2 separate regions of the Homo sapiens genome follow, and region 2 is linked to region 1. Evidence: promoter capture Hi-C in human tissues and cell types (Jung and others, 2019). All regions are on one chromosome and are shown on one strand. Each heading gives the region's core, a stretch centred on a gene start or on the middle of the fragment in contact. The rest is flanking DNA. Distances are from core to core; before and after follow the strand shown. Region 1 holds the start of JMJD1C (jumonji domain containing 1C). Region 2 overlaps REEP3 (receptor accessory protein 3).

Region 1 (7,567 bases), core at 596-3,095:
CATGGTCACAAAGCAGATCATTGATGACTTGGTATCTGGATGTTGATCTCCCTACTCTTTTATCCTTACATATGTTGAATTATTGTCACCAAGTCACTTTACTGGTTCCTTAATCTACACTGATTTTAGAAATCTTCATCTGTAATTCTTAAGATAATTTGCTAAGTATTATACAGTGTACACTGAAAAAGTGGACTTGGAAATAAAATTGCCCAAGCAAAATTTTTTCTCTCAACTTGCCGATATGCATTTTTGGGTATGTTTTGCTGTTTTAATTTATTACAGGTTTTTTGTTTGTTTGTTTGTTTTCGGGGGGACTGAGTTTTGCTCTTGTTGACCAGGTTGGAGTGCAGTGGCACGATCCCGGCTCACTGCAACCTCCAGCTCCCAGGTTCAAGTGATTCTCCTGCTGCCTCCTGAGTAGCTGGGATTACAGGCATGCTCCACCATGCCCAGCTAATTTTTTGTATTTTTAGTAGAGACTAAAAATACATTTAGTTTCATCATGTTGGCCAGGCTGGTCTCGAACTCCCGACCTCAGGTGATCTGCCTCCTAAAGTGCAGGGATTACAGGCGTGAGGCACCGTGCCCAGCCTATTTATTACAGTTCTATGTTTGGTCTTTGGCAAAATTTGACCATGATTATTAAAATCCATCTTCCTTATAATTTTGGTTTCTAACCTATTAGCAGTGGTTGTGTTTCTCCACTTCAAATTGCCCAGCTTGAGTGTTCTAGAGAAAACAGATAAAAGCCTTATAGTTATTTTAAACATTCAGATTACTACTGTAAACTCTGTTAACTTTTTTTTTTTAAATAGAGGTTCAGGAAAATCTCAAGAAACTGAAATTTAGAATATTGGACTACCTATAAAAAAGCAGTATAAAGGGTGCCTGAAATCGAACTGCTCACTGACATTTGTAGGGAGGTTTGATTTATAACAAATAAGTTGATCAAAGAAGAGTGATTGTTCCAAGTTAGAGATCTTTGTGTGGGTTAGGGAGTCCGATTGTAATTGGATGGGAAATAAATATTTTTTTTCTTGAATTGTGATTGGCTAAAATCCTTTTCTTTCCATGGTATTTTCTAATAACTGAATCTGGGGATTTTCTCTGCTTTTATTATCTGACCAGTGTGTTTGAGCTGTGTACCAGTACTAAAAGTACTAAGACTGTCGCAGACACGGTTTGTGAAATTTCAGGACGTTGACAAGGGCCCGCCACGGAGCATTTGCTGTTCTTATAATAAAGCAGTGACGAATTTAAATCTGTGAATAGCTTAAACATGTAATTAGTATCACCACAAATGAGAAGAATGAAAGGATCACATTTTCCCCCTCGTTTTCCCTTGAAGTCATGAACGGTTGGTTCTGCTGTGACTTTGGGGCTTAGTTTTCAGTAGAAGTGTTGTCCTGCTCTGCTGCTGTTACTGCGGGACTGCTAATTCAGGCTAACTCAGGCGGCGGGCGCTGTGTGCTCTGAACATCAAACCGCGGGTGAGGCGTCAACCCAGGAGTTTATTTTGTGATCAGAGTGGAACCACTACACTTCACTTTCCCCTCACCTCCACCTCTGAGGGAGCAACGAATACAAAGGTAGACCCCCAAAAGCTTTGAATAGCTGTCGCCTACTTTCCCGCGGCCCTCTTCATTTTTTCGTCTCCCGCTGCCGCCGCCGCCGCCGCCTCTGGATCTGGACGGACCCAGTGGCCGCTGCCGCCTCCGCAGGGCCGGGCACTACTTTCCGTCTGCGGTGGTTCCGCCGACCCTCCCGCGGCTGCTGCCCCGCCCGCGCCGGCGGAAGGAGACGCGCTGCGCGCCGCCGCTGCCCGGGGAGGGAGACGGAGCAGTACTGGCCGCGGCGCGGTGGCGGCGGCTGGGCTGCCTCGGGGTCTTCGACGGCCGCGTTGGGTTTTGTTTCAGTTTTCTTGTGTGGCGCTGCAGCACAAGGCTGCGAATCTGGGAGTCCAAAGGAGTGTTTGCGGGGAGGGCCCGAGGTCGCTGTGTCCGGGGCAGAGCGGCCGGTTCGTCCCGAGTCTGCGCTCTTTCGGGTCCGCTGCTGTGTCCCGGTCCGCTCTCCTCAGCATGAGCGGCCGGTAGGAGTGAGGTTTCATCGGTTCCCTCGCACTGGAGGAGGCAGCGGCCGCTTCGGCAGCGACAGCTATGGCGGTAGAGACGCGGGCAGAGCTGGTGGGTAAGCGGTTCCTGTGTGTGGCGGTCGGCGACGAGGCACGTTCGGAGCGCTGGGAGAGCGGACGCGGCTGGCGAAGCTGGCGAGCGGGGGTCATCCGAGCCGTGTCACACAGGGACAGCCGCAATCCGGACCTGGCGGTAAGAGAGTCAGCGCCCCCCTTTTCCCCTGCCGCGCCCGCACCCGGCTCTCGCAGACGTACCTTGCAGGCTTCCCTCTGGCGCCTCGCTCAGCCCGGCCAACTGGCGGTCACGCCCCTCTGCTGAACCCTTGGCGCGTTTGCCCGCATCCCTTGCCTGGGTCCCTGCGTCTCTCCGAGCGGCTTCCCCTGTGGAGGTGGTGTCGGAGCAGGACTCCCGGGATAGCCGCGGAGGCTGCCCTGGCCCCCATCCCGGAGGGGTCGACCGCGGCTCCCCGCTGTGGCGCCTGGGCGGCCACGGAGACCTCCCCGAAAGGCGGAGCCGCGAGTCCGGCGCCGCGCGGGCAGGTGGGGGTAGGGGGCGGACCACTCATGGCGACAGGCGGCCAGCTTCCCTGGTATCTCTTTTCTTGGAAAAGTCTTCATAGTGCTGTAGCTCGAGACTTAAAACTTATCCTGTAAGGTTGCTGAAGGGGAGGGAGAAAAGAAAAGAGACCTTCCCACACAGTCCGGGGATTCCTATGTGTTTTAGAGGCAGAGGCCGTGGTGGTGGCTGTGCCCGGATTCATCCTCTCCTTAATAGATGCTTGGCTTTCTAACCGTAAAGGATAAAAGTGAAAAATTTTGGTATGGAGGGTAATCTCTCTTTCTGTCCCCAATGTGCTTTTCTTGTTAGAAAGGTATAGTTCTTTGGAGTCAAGCTGTTTCTGGGTTTTATACGATTTTAAATAAGACGAAAAATGTTGTCAATTAAAATGTTAAATGCCATGCAGAATTGATTATCTTTTTTTTTTTTTGGTTTCTTACATGTGACGCTGCCAGTGCTTTCTTTGAGTAGCGTAGGTATGTGCATGATATTGAGCTGTAATATGCTCTGTTGTGTTCCAAGTACATTCTCACTGAGGGACAGCTTGAAGGTAAGGGGCGGAGTAGAGACAAGACATGGACTAGACTTCCAAAGGTTGATTTATGAATACGTAATCTGTGAAATTTATTTGTAATGCCCTGAGCCATTTACTTTTTCAATGAAAACTTCAAATTTAGGAAATTTTTTTCCCTTTGTGTGCATGAAAGCTTACAATTCCAAATTCATTGTAATATTTGTACAGGTATCTACCTAATATTTTTTACCTACCTATTTTAATAGTTTCTGAGTGTGTTTTTGTAAACTCGGGTTTTCCTCACTGTAGTCAATGATATGGTTAATGCGGCATGTATTAATATTGACTCGATATCGCAAAATAGGTGTGTTTTGCTGATAGGTATTTCTAACAGAAAATAGAGGTAGTTTTGAAGGTTTTGGCTGGTTATTTTCGTATAGAAATGTATAATCTTCCTTAAAAAGTATTGGTGATGTTAGTGGTTCTAAAAATTATGGCAGTTCAATTCAGTAACTATTTTTGTTTGTGTAAAAGGCTGAGGTAAGAGGATTGCTAGAGCCCAGGACTTATTAAGAGTCCAGCCTGGGCAACATAGGTGAGACCCCCTCATCTGTAAAAAAGGAAAAAAAAAATTTGTATATATAAATAACTTAATTGCTCTCTTAGTTGGGAATTTAAGTGATTAAAGAGTTAAGTTTGCATATGTTAGTAAGGTATTAAGCTGGATATTAAAAAATAAATTATCTATGGATGGTAGAGATTGACTGGAAAGAATAGGAGTTTCTTCAGGTGATAGAAATGTTTCCTATCCTGATTGTTGGTTACACAGATATATATATTTGTCAAAACTCGTTGAATTGATACTATCTTTGCGTTTCACCATATCTAAATTTTACCAAAAAAAGAAAAATGTATGTTGAACCATACCTATGTGAACCCTTGATGAGTTTTTTTAATCTGTCTTTATTTGAAAATTTGAATATTAATTTAGTTTTTTTAGCCTAGAATCTACCATTTTAGATTTATTCCCAGATTTTCTTACATTCACATTTCTTAAACGAAACTTGGAACAGTTTAGCATTAACATAATGTAATATTCCTGTTCGACTTTGATTACTGCAGAGTAGATTTTAAGTTACATGAAATTAGGCTAGGCACAGTGGCTCACGCCTGTAAACCCAACACTTTGGGAGACTGAGATGGGAAGATACTTGAGCGCAGGAGTTTTGAGACTAGCCTGGGCAACATGGCGAAACCCTGTCCCTACAAAAAATACAGAAATTAGCCGGGCATAGTAGTACAATGCCTGTGGTTCCATCTACTGGGGCGGCTGAGGTGGGAGGATCACCTGAGCTCAGTGAGGTTGAGACTGCAGTGAGCCAAGATTATGCCACTGCACTCTAGCCTGGGCGACAGAGTGAGATCCTGTCTCTAAATAAATAAATAAATATGTAAAAAGAAAGTATATGGAAAATGTTGAATAGGCTAGTTTGTGATTTTTTTTTTAAAGCTACAAATATGTATAATTAAAAACCTGTTAAGTCTACTAGAAGTCCTGGCTGGATACACCAGGCAGGACATGTGCCACAAACCTGTGGCACATGATTTGGAAGGATAATGATAAGAACTTCAAAGTAGTTGAGGGAATATTGTGTCTCAAAGATAATCAGTTATTCTTATTTTGGGTCTTATGTATGAGGAATTGCCACGTGAATTAAATTTCTATAATTGTTTAATTAACGTAATCTTGGTGGTTTAAATGTTATACGCTTATTATTTTGTAGTTCTGGAGATCACAAATAAGACCTGGATCTTGCTGGGCTAAAATCAAAGTGTGGCAAGACTGTTTATTCTAGGAGAGATCCATTTTCTTTCCTTTTCTAGTTTTTAGAAGCTGTCCACATTCCTTGGCTCATGGCCCCCTTCCTCCATCTTAAAAGCCAACCAAGTTGTATCTCTCTGACCGTTTTTCCCTAGTCATCTCCTTCTAACTCTCCTGCTTCCCCATTACACTTGTAAGTGCCCTGTTGATTACTTTGGGCCAATTGACATAATCCAGGATAATCTTGCCATCTATTAACAACCATAATTCCTTGTAAACTTTAATTCTCCTTTGCCATGTAATGTAACAGTTACAGGTTCCTGGGATTAGGACATGGATATCTTTGGGATTAAATTATTTTTTACCACACCGTGGTAGCAAACATATTTCTTGTACAATATGAACATATATAATTTAATACAAATAAAGTAAGATTAAAATTTTATTTTTTCAGCCAGGGGTTATAGTGATATTACTTTCTAATCTTTTAAGTAATAAGTTTAATTAATAGAGTTTTCATTAGGTTATGTTGGATAATTTCAAATAGTTTGTCAACTTTTAAAAATATGGCGTGAGAACCTTTTGGGTTATCTGTATTGGAATTATCTTTGCTAACAAAATATCTAAGCCTTTTTTATGCAGGAGGACCAAGTTGTTGAAGAAGTTGAAATATATACAGCACATTGTGAACCTTTTTCATTTTGAGTTTCTTTTTTAGCCCCATTACTGAGTTTTGTCTTGGGATACATTTTTGACATTACTGCTGTTCTACTTTTTGAGGAATTTTTCTAGAAAATTGATAGTTTAAGGAAAACTGGCAGTTGAGAAGTACTGTTGCATAATATTTGTCTCCTTGAATAATATTGTAATATTAATTAAATAGCAGACATCAATTTACTCTCCTCTTGTTTAACTTCGCTTCCATTTATGATCTCAGTGATTTATTTATTTGCTTATCTATCCATCCATTCATCCATACACCCATCTATCTACCTTTCTTTGATGCTTAGGTTGATTGTATTTCTGTTTTCAAGCCAGTTCTGTCTAAAGTGTAAGTATTTAATAAAATATGTCTGGTTTTTTCAATAGAGAAAAGGACAATAAAAAATCATACTGTGTATTAAAGGCCAAACCCATAAATTTGCTTGTATTTAGGGGATATCCTGGGAATGAAGAGTTTAAACTGTTGAAATGTGTATCAGCTGATGTTATTTTGCAAAACTTCTGTCTTAAATATGAATAATATTCATGTTTAGGAAATTTAAAGTGATTTATGATTTCGCATATAAATAAAACCCCTTTTTGTTTTTGGGTCTACACATTTCTGCTTAGTTTTCTCATTTAAGTTTCTTATTTAGTTGGTAGCATTACATTTCCTTGTATGTTTCTTTATGTCAGTCTGACATTTATATTGTCTTGCATCATTATTAAAAATGCTGATTTCTGGTCTGTTTACAAAATGTTGAATGTATGAATGAATGAATGATTTTTACTTCATTGGTCAATACGATCTTGATAGGTTTACTATAGCAAAATTGGTTTTTTTGGTAGGTAGAAAGACTTCTATGTCTGATGTAAGTATGCCAACTATTTTTCACACTCGAATTTGTTATTGCTATTGCTGGTAAAGACTTGAATATAGGAAAATGACGAAATTGCCCCAATGGTGGGACATAAACTCGTGCAGTTACTACCACTAGCTAGTTTTAAAAGAAGGTGATGATCGCCCAGTAAATGTTGTTAATTGTGTTTCTGTGTAAAATTAAAGGGGCTGTTGTTTTATATGATCTTTTGACCCATCATCTATATGTTCTGGCACATATTTTAAATAGGGTATTCCAATAATTTCCAATAATTTTAAATAGGGAATTCAGTAAGTTCCAGTAATTTTAAATAGGGAATGTTTTCATTCATTAGAATAATTGAACTATAGAAATTTTACCATGTGAAACCTTATCGTCTTTGTATAGGGATATTATTGCATGTGAAAGTAAAAATGTTAACTAGATATTTCAATGTAATTGAAAGCATACAGGCTATTTTCCTGTATTTATAGATTTTATATATTATTTTTAGACAATTTCAAATTATATACAAGAAATGTCTTTAAGTCTAAAATTCATTTTCTGTCATCTTCACATATTTAGTACCGTACCTAGCATTTACTTAGGTGTCCATAAATGCTTATGGAATAATAAAGGAATGTCATAAGTTACTTGAATATTTTAATTCATACTAACCATCTCAAGTTTCTATTACTATTTACTCTTTTTTGAGACAGGGTCTTGCTCTGTTACCCAGGCTGGAGTGCAGTGGTGTGATCATTGCTCACTGCCGCCTGGAACTCCTCAACTCAGGCAATCCTCCCACCTCACCTCCTGAATAGCTGGGACTACAGGCATGTGCCACTATACCCAACTAATTTTTAAATTTTTTTTTGTAGAGATGAGGTCTCACTTTGTTGCCCAGGCTGGTCTTGGACTCCTGGCCTCAAGTGAGCCTCCCACCTTGGCCTCCCAAAATGCTGGGATTACAGGT
Region 2 (6,980 bases), core at 1,371-3,870, 81 kb before region 1:
AATACACCTGCAGCACTGCCTCACTTAAAGACTTCACTAGCAGGCCTCCTCACCCCTTGCTGGCCAGCCTCTGTGGGAGTGCATCAGAACATAATTTGAAAAGCACTGCCCTATATAAACCATCTGTTCCAGCATGGTTTCCTCAATATGCCTCTTGTATTTCAACTTCAATCCTGGGTTATGATTCTTAGCTGGAATGCCTCCTTCCCTCCTCATCTTTCCTCTTCCCCACGTGGATCATTCTAGCTTCCTCCCCTTTCTTATCTGTACCCTAACATTCCAACAATGAGAAACATTTACTTAACTGTTTAATTCCAGTAAACATATATGGTGGTTTCAGAATTGCTAACCATACACATTCATGGTATACAACTTTATCAACTACAGTAGTATCATGTACGAGTCTTTTTGAGTTCAGTCTTACTGATTCCAATCATTTCCAAAGTTACTTAGATCAGCAGCTTTTCTCTCTATTCCCTTCGACAACGTCACCCAAACTGGAGTACAGTGGTGTCATCACAGCTTATTGCAGCCTCAAAATCTGGGCTCAAGGGATCCTCCTGCCTCAGCCTCCTGAACAACTAGGATGACAGGCGAGGGCCACCATGGCTAGCTAACTTTCAAATTTTTTGTAAAGATGGGGTCTCACTATGTTATCCAGGCTGGTCTCCAACTCCTGGGCTCAAGTCATCCACCAGCCGTGGCCTCCGAAAGTGTTGGGATTACAGGCATGAGCCACCACACCTGGCTGTTCTTTCTTTATCTCTCTCCCCACTCCACACCTCTGCCTTCTATGGAATAAATGAGACATAGTTCTTTATTTCTTTGGTTTCTAGCTTTATGCTATTAGACTACCTACACTAGGTCAGTCCTTGGTGTTGCTTTTTGCCCAACATGCCCCATGAGAACATGAAAACCAAAATGTCAAGGTTATCAGGTTTCAGGAAATGTCCTTAGGTGAAAGGTGGCTTTAGTTCTCTCTTTACCTTTCTTGGCCTCTGGCCTCTGAGTAAGCTGTACTTTTTAATAAACTCAATGGTGCATTTAAAAAAAAAAAACTCAAAGGGCACTTATTTTGACTCTTACAAGAGATCACCATCAAACATTTCCAGTTCTGAGAACTTACATGTAACAGTAGTATATTCTTTATACAATATTCATTGGTTCTAAAGTTTTTGGTTGACCATGTTATCAAGTAGTATTTGATTATCATTTTGTTTATACAAAAACTCGTGGTCTGAATGGCTTCCCTGACTGGTGCATTGAGAAAGCGTAATTAAATAAATATTTTAGCTAGCATTTTTTTTTTCAATGGGAGGGCCCATCGCAGTTACATTTTTGTTCATTTTGCTGAAAATAAAACCCTAAAACCTGATCTTTAAATTTTCAGCAGCTTTGTTCTAAAAAAGGACAATCAGAAATATCCATAAAAGAAAATCAGTTTCTCATTAGGCACTTCTGGGAATAGATAAATAAAACAGAGGTATAGGAGTTCCCTATACTTGATGTGAATTATGTAAATTAAGCACCTAAACTACTGCTTATGCAGGGGAGTGTCTAATGTTCTTTGATGCTTATGGTAAAAAAGCTCTTCTTTAAATGGTAATTGCATGTTCAAGAATAGATTTTTTTTTCTTTAAATGTACCATCATTCAATTTTTAGGCCAAATTTGAACAATCTCAATTTCTATTCAATTCTAAAGATTTAATAGCACAAAATAAAAACTCAGGAAGCTCTAATTCTTTCCCCAAAGATATATAAAGAGAATGGAAATGTGGTACAGCATTACATAATGTTGCCACCCACTCCAGAAACAGAAATGAGTGCCTAGCAACAGTAAAGGGTCATCTCAGGAGAGTGCTGATTGCTCATTGGAGCATTCTAAACACAGATGCTTTTCTATCCTTATCACTTCCAGTCCCCGCTGAACACAGGCTGGTTACCTTGGATCCCAGTGCCATCTCATGAAAATCTTCTTATGACAATCAATAAGTGACACTCAGGGCAGCCTCTACCTTTAGGTTACATCCTTGGGAAAAACGTCAAAATAGATTTTGAAGCATTAGAAGAAAATAGGCATTCTTTGTACAGAATTGTCTCAGTGTTCTCCTTCCCTGGTGATATTTCTTTTAAAATATGAGTTGTTAGTGTTTGTAGTGGTATTTTTCTGACCTCATTCTCCATTCCACAGGTTTTAGCTGCAAGGCTGAGGCATCCAACTCTTAATAAAGAGGTTATGCATGAGTGTGAGTGTGCCCAATATTATCTGATGCAAATGGTAGAAGAGCTTTTCTTAAAATAGTAATCTCATCTTCAAGAATACATTTTTATTCTCTTTAAATGTACAACCATTCACATTTTAGGCTAAATTTGAACAATCTTGATTCCTATGCAATCCTAAAGGTGTGATGGTACAAATAAAGGCCCAGGAATCTCTAGTTTTTTCCCCAAAGATATAAAAAGAGGATAGAAATGTGGTCCAGCATTACATAATGTTGCCACCACTCCAGGAAAAGAAGTGAGAGCACCTTTTCCTATGTTTCTTGGCTACTTGCATGCACCCCACCCCTTTTTTGGTGTGAAGTATCTTGTCCATTTTTCTTTGTATATTTTGAATATGAGCCATTTTTTGCATTTACATGTGATTTTCTCCCATTTTGGCTTCTTTTTTCACTCTCAATGGTGTCTTTGATGAAGAGAAGTGCTTAATTTTAGTGTTTTCCCATTTGTCATTATCAGCCTTTTCTTTCATGATTAATGCTTTTCTGTATCATGTTTAAGGTTGTTTTTGGTTATCTTAAAGTCGTGAAGAATTGGCCAGGCATGGTGGCTCACGCCTGTAATCCCAGCACTTTGGGAGGCTGAGGCAGGCAGATCACGAGGTCAGGAGTTTGAGATCAGCCTGGCCAACATGGTGAAACCCCGCCTCTACTAAAAATACAAAAATTAGCTGGGCATGGTGGCGGGCGCCTGTAATCCCAGCTACTTGGGAGGCTGAGGCAGGAGAATTGCTTGAAACTGAGAGGCGGAGGTTGTAGTGAGCTGAGATTGCACCACTGCACTCCAGCCTGGGTGAAAGAGTGAAACTCTGTCTCAAAAAAAAAAAAAGTCACGAAGAAGTTTTCTATATTATCTTTGAGAAGCTTTACTGTTTTATTTTTATCTGTGATCCAACTGGAATTTATTTTTTGTGTTTGGTCTGAGATAGGTGACTATGATTCTGCAAGTGATGGATATCCAATTGGCATACAATCATAATTGCGAATAGCCATCTTTCCCCAATGCTGTGTAGTGCTACCTTTGTGATAAGACAAATGCCTATATATGTATGGGTCACTTTCTAGACTCTGTGTTTTTTATTGATCTATGTGTCCATCTTTGACCCAATACCATGTTGTTGTAATTACTGTAGCTTTATAATCAATCTTGATATAAGTAACTTATTCCACTACTAATATCTATACGGCATCCCAGTATTTTGTTCTTTGCTCTTCTACTTCAAGATTGTCTTGACTATTCTTGGCCCTCTGCATTTCCATATACATTTTATAAATAACTTGTCCATTTTCTTCTCTTCTCTAGGTATACTTACTCCCTACTTCATGAACTCATGAGGTTTCTTCACTTTGAATATTCACAGCCAATCTGTCAAACAATCCTATGGGTTCTATCTTTAAAATGAATCTAGCATCTGACCACTGCTACCAGCCTGGTCCAAGTCACCACCCACTACTCACCACTACTCGCTGGTTTATTAATACAGCCTCTTAACTCGTTTCCAAGCTTCCATCTTTGCTTCGATACAGGCTGTTCTCTGTAGTAGAGCTTTTAAAACACAAAATCTGATAATATCACTTCTCTGCTCAGAACCCTCCAACAGCTTCCCACCTCACTCAGAGCCAGTTCCAGTGTCTTTAACAATGGCCTACACCTCTGGTCACACTACTCTGCTCCAGCCACATTGACCTCCATGTGATGAGTACAGACCTGACTTAGGGTTTACACCCGGTTGGCTTCCTTCCTGGGACACTCTTCCCCAGAATCTGTGTGGCTAATGCCTTCACCTTTAACTCTGTTCAAATATCCACTTCTCAGAGGCTTTCCCCAACTACCTTATTTAAAATTGCAAGTTACCCCGAGACTAAATGAAAATTTGATTCCAAACAAAATGTTTTACCTTCAACAGAAATGTAACACCATAAAGAAGATGAGGCTGGGCGCAGTGGCTTACGCCTGTAAGAATCACTCGAACCCCGGAGGCAGAGGTTGCAGTGAGCTGAGATCGTGCCACTGCACTCCAGCGTGGGCAACAGAGCAAGACTCCATCTCAAAAAAAAAAAAAAAAAAAAAAAAACAGAAGTTGGCCAGGCGCAGTGGCTCATGCCTATAATCCTAGCACTTTGGGAGGCCGAGGTGGGTGGATCACGAGGTCAAGAGATCGAGACCATCCTGGCCAACGTGGTGAAACCCTGTCTCTACTAAAAATGCAAAAATTAGCTGGGCATGGTGGCGGGTGCCTGTAGTCCCAGCTATTTGGGAGGCGGAGGCAGAAGAATCACTTGAACTTGGGAGGCGGAGGTTGCAGTGAGCCGAGACCGCACCACTGCACTCCAGCCTGGCAACAGAGCGAGACTCCATCAAAAAAAATAAATAAATAAAAAGAAGTTCAAATGTTCTATAACGCTGTAGGATGGCTATAGTTAACAGTAATACACAGTTTCAAATAGGTAGAACCAGAATATTGAATATTCCCAGCACAAATAAATGGTAAACATTTGAGATGATGGGTATGCTAATTACATTAATCTGTTCACTGTATGTTATATGTATGTCTAAATATATTATGTAAATTTTAAAAATTAAATTTAAAACAAAGAAACAAGTACCCATAATCACCACAAACAATTTAAAAAGCAAAGTTTTTCATTTGCTTCAAATAGCTAATTCTGTCTTCTTTGTATTTATTAAAAAATAAGATAGCCACAGAAATTAATCTAATCACAATAAATACCCCAGAGTTGCAGATGATAACTTTTTCTGCTGGTCATAGAAATCACTGTTCCTTTGTATTTTGCATTTTTAACATATGAAGAAGAGCTATATAAATCAAATAGTCTTTGCTTTGGTGACATTTAACTAATCCCTAATGCATATACATACGGGGAGAATTGGGTCGTCTTCTCAAAATCTTAACATAGGGTATTTTTTTCCAATAGCAGTTTTACCAAATGTTACTTTAAAAACTTACTACATATTATCCATACTAGAAAATATATGTAATATGTGCAAGTTATGAAGTCTAACAACAAAATGAACACATGCAAACCCAGTATCCAAATTAAAATGAAAGCATTGCCCTAACATCCCATCTGCTTCTGTGTACCTTCCTTATCTAAAGTGCTCTGTTCACCCTTTCCCCAACAACACACTTGCTGTTGTTTAAGCTCATCATTCCTTCTCTAAACCTTTTCTTCCTCTCATGTTTGACACCTCCCACTCAAGGATCCAAGCCAGAAATCTGAAATTCCTTCCTCCTCCTCACACCCAATCGTCAAGTTTTGTCAAATTCTCCCACCTCCCCTAAATCTCTTTCATATCTGTTCCCATGTCCCAAATACTCACTTCAGCCTTAATTCTGACCTTTCTTATTTTTCATGGGAACTGTCTGCCCTCATTCACTTTCCTTACACCCCCTGTTAATATCAATCATCACTTAAAATATTTCAACAACCTTTCCTTGCTTTCTCATTAAAGAAAAATCCCCTCATAGGCTATGCAGGTTAGACCAAATTGATCTAACTCCTTTGACTTCTCCAGTTTTATCTTTTGCATCTCTGTGCCCCACTGATATTGAACTGCTTGATTTCTGAAGAGAGTCATATTATTTTTTTCTGCCTTGGCATATTTTGTTCTCTCTGACTGGGGCCTTTTTACAAGGAAGATAATTTCAAAGATGAAATTGAAAGTTCATTTTCTCTGGGAAAATATCTTTGCCTCCTCTAGGTGAGGAACCCTTTCTCCATGTTCTCATAACATTTTGTACATACTTGAAGTAGCAGTGTGACTTTGGGCAAGTTGTTAACCTTTCTGTGTCTGTTTGCTTTTCTCTAAAAACGTAACAATAATAGTACACATCTTGCTGTGAACATTAAATGAGTTAAACCATATAATAATGCCAGGCACACGGTACACATTTTGTAAGTATTACTAGTATTACTGTCATCAGACGATATTATGTTCACTGACTTTCCCGTTTGTGGTCTCTGTGTTGGGTATTGCTTTAAAACGGAAACTGTGTCATGCTTAGCTCTGCATCCCCAGGCCTGATACGTAGTAGGTATTCAATAAATACTTGCAGAAAGAATAAAAGAAAAAAATCCCTTTCTTTACTGTGGATAGGAAGGCAGAACTGAATCTTCTGTACACACAATTTACGTAAGTTGAGACTAGAAAATGAAAATGTGACAAAAGAAATGGACAAACTGCTAAATATTCTGACAGTTCTTTGACTTGCTTTTATGGTTTTAAAACACAATAGTTAGACCTTGTCTCTAAAAAAAAAAAAAAAAAACTTAATGGGGCATGGTGGTGCAAGTCTGTAATCCCAGCTACTTGGCAGTTTGAGTCAGAAGGATGGCTTGAGCCCAGGAGATGGTGGCTGTAGTGAGTCATGACTGTGCCACTGTACTTTAGCCTGGGCAACACAGCGAGACCCTGTGTCAGAAAATAAATAAATAATTCCAAACAATACAAGTTTTCCATGTTATTAAAACATGAGAAAGATTAAAGAAAACCAATGTAGAACAGAATTTTCATGTGAACAGATTTGTGGGAAATAATAAAATGATTATTATTTTAAGTCACTAAGTTATTGGGTGGTTTGTTACACAGTATTAGATAACTGAAAGCAGCAAGAAACTCCAGGTGGCCTTGGTGGCAGTGAACACAGACTCCTGAGGTCACAGAAAGCCAGGGGTGA

What was found. The method cuts DNA at HindIII sites, captures the fragments that hold promoters and counts their contacts. A contact is called where the count stands out against the background at its distance.
Region 2: a contact is called between a fragment that was not itself captured here and the fragment with the promoter of JMJD1C in region 1, in 3 of the 25 tissues and cell types used here (dorsolateral prefrontal cortex, hippocampus and spleen).

The regions. Positions count from the first base shown.
Region 1 is chr10:63,460,255-63,467,821 of GRCh38, reverse strand. It overlaps JMJD1C (jumonji domain containing 1C), which reads left to right and starts at 1,845. Exons shown (of 26, transcript NM_032776.3): 1 at 1,845-2,327. The coding sequence starts at 2,160. JMJD1C-AS1 (JMJD1C antisense RNA 1) reads right to left here and starts at 2,593. Exons shown (of 1, transcript NR_027182.1): 1 at 1,259-2,593. RefSeq lists enhancers at 1,383-1,432, 1,883-2,052, 2,133-2,202, 1,824-2,613 and silencers at 1,703-1,852, 2,393-2,732. The HindIII fragment of the contact is 6,698 bases long and covers 1-5,822 here.
Region 2 is chr10:63,543,056-63,550,035 of GRCh38, reverse strand. The region is part of intron 1 of REEP3 (receptor accessory protein 3); the gene reads right to left. Among named protein-coding and RNA genes, the nearest start is that of REEP3, 25 kb to the right of the region's middle. The HindIII fragment of the contact is 5,858 bases long and covers 1-5,549 here.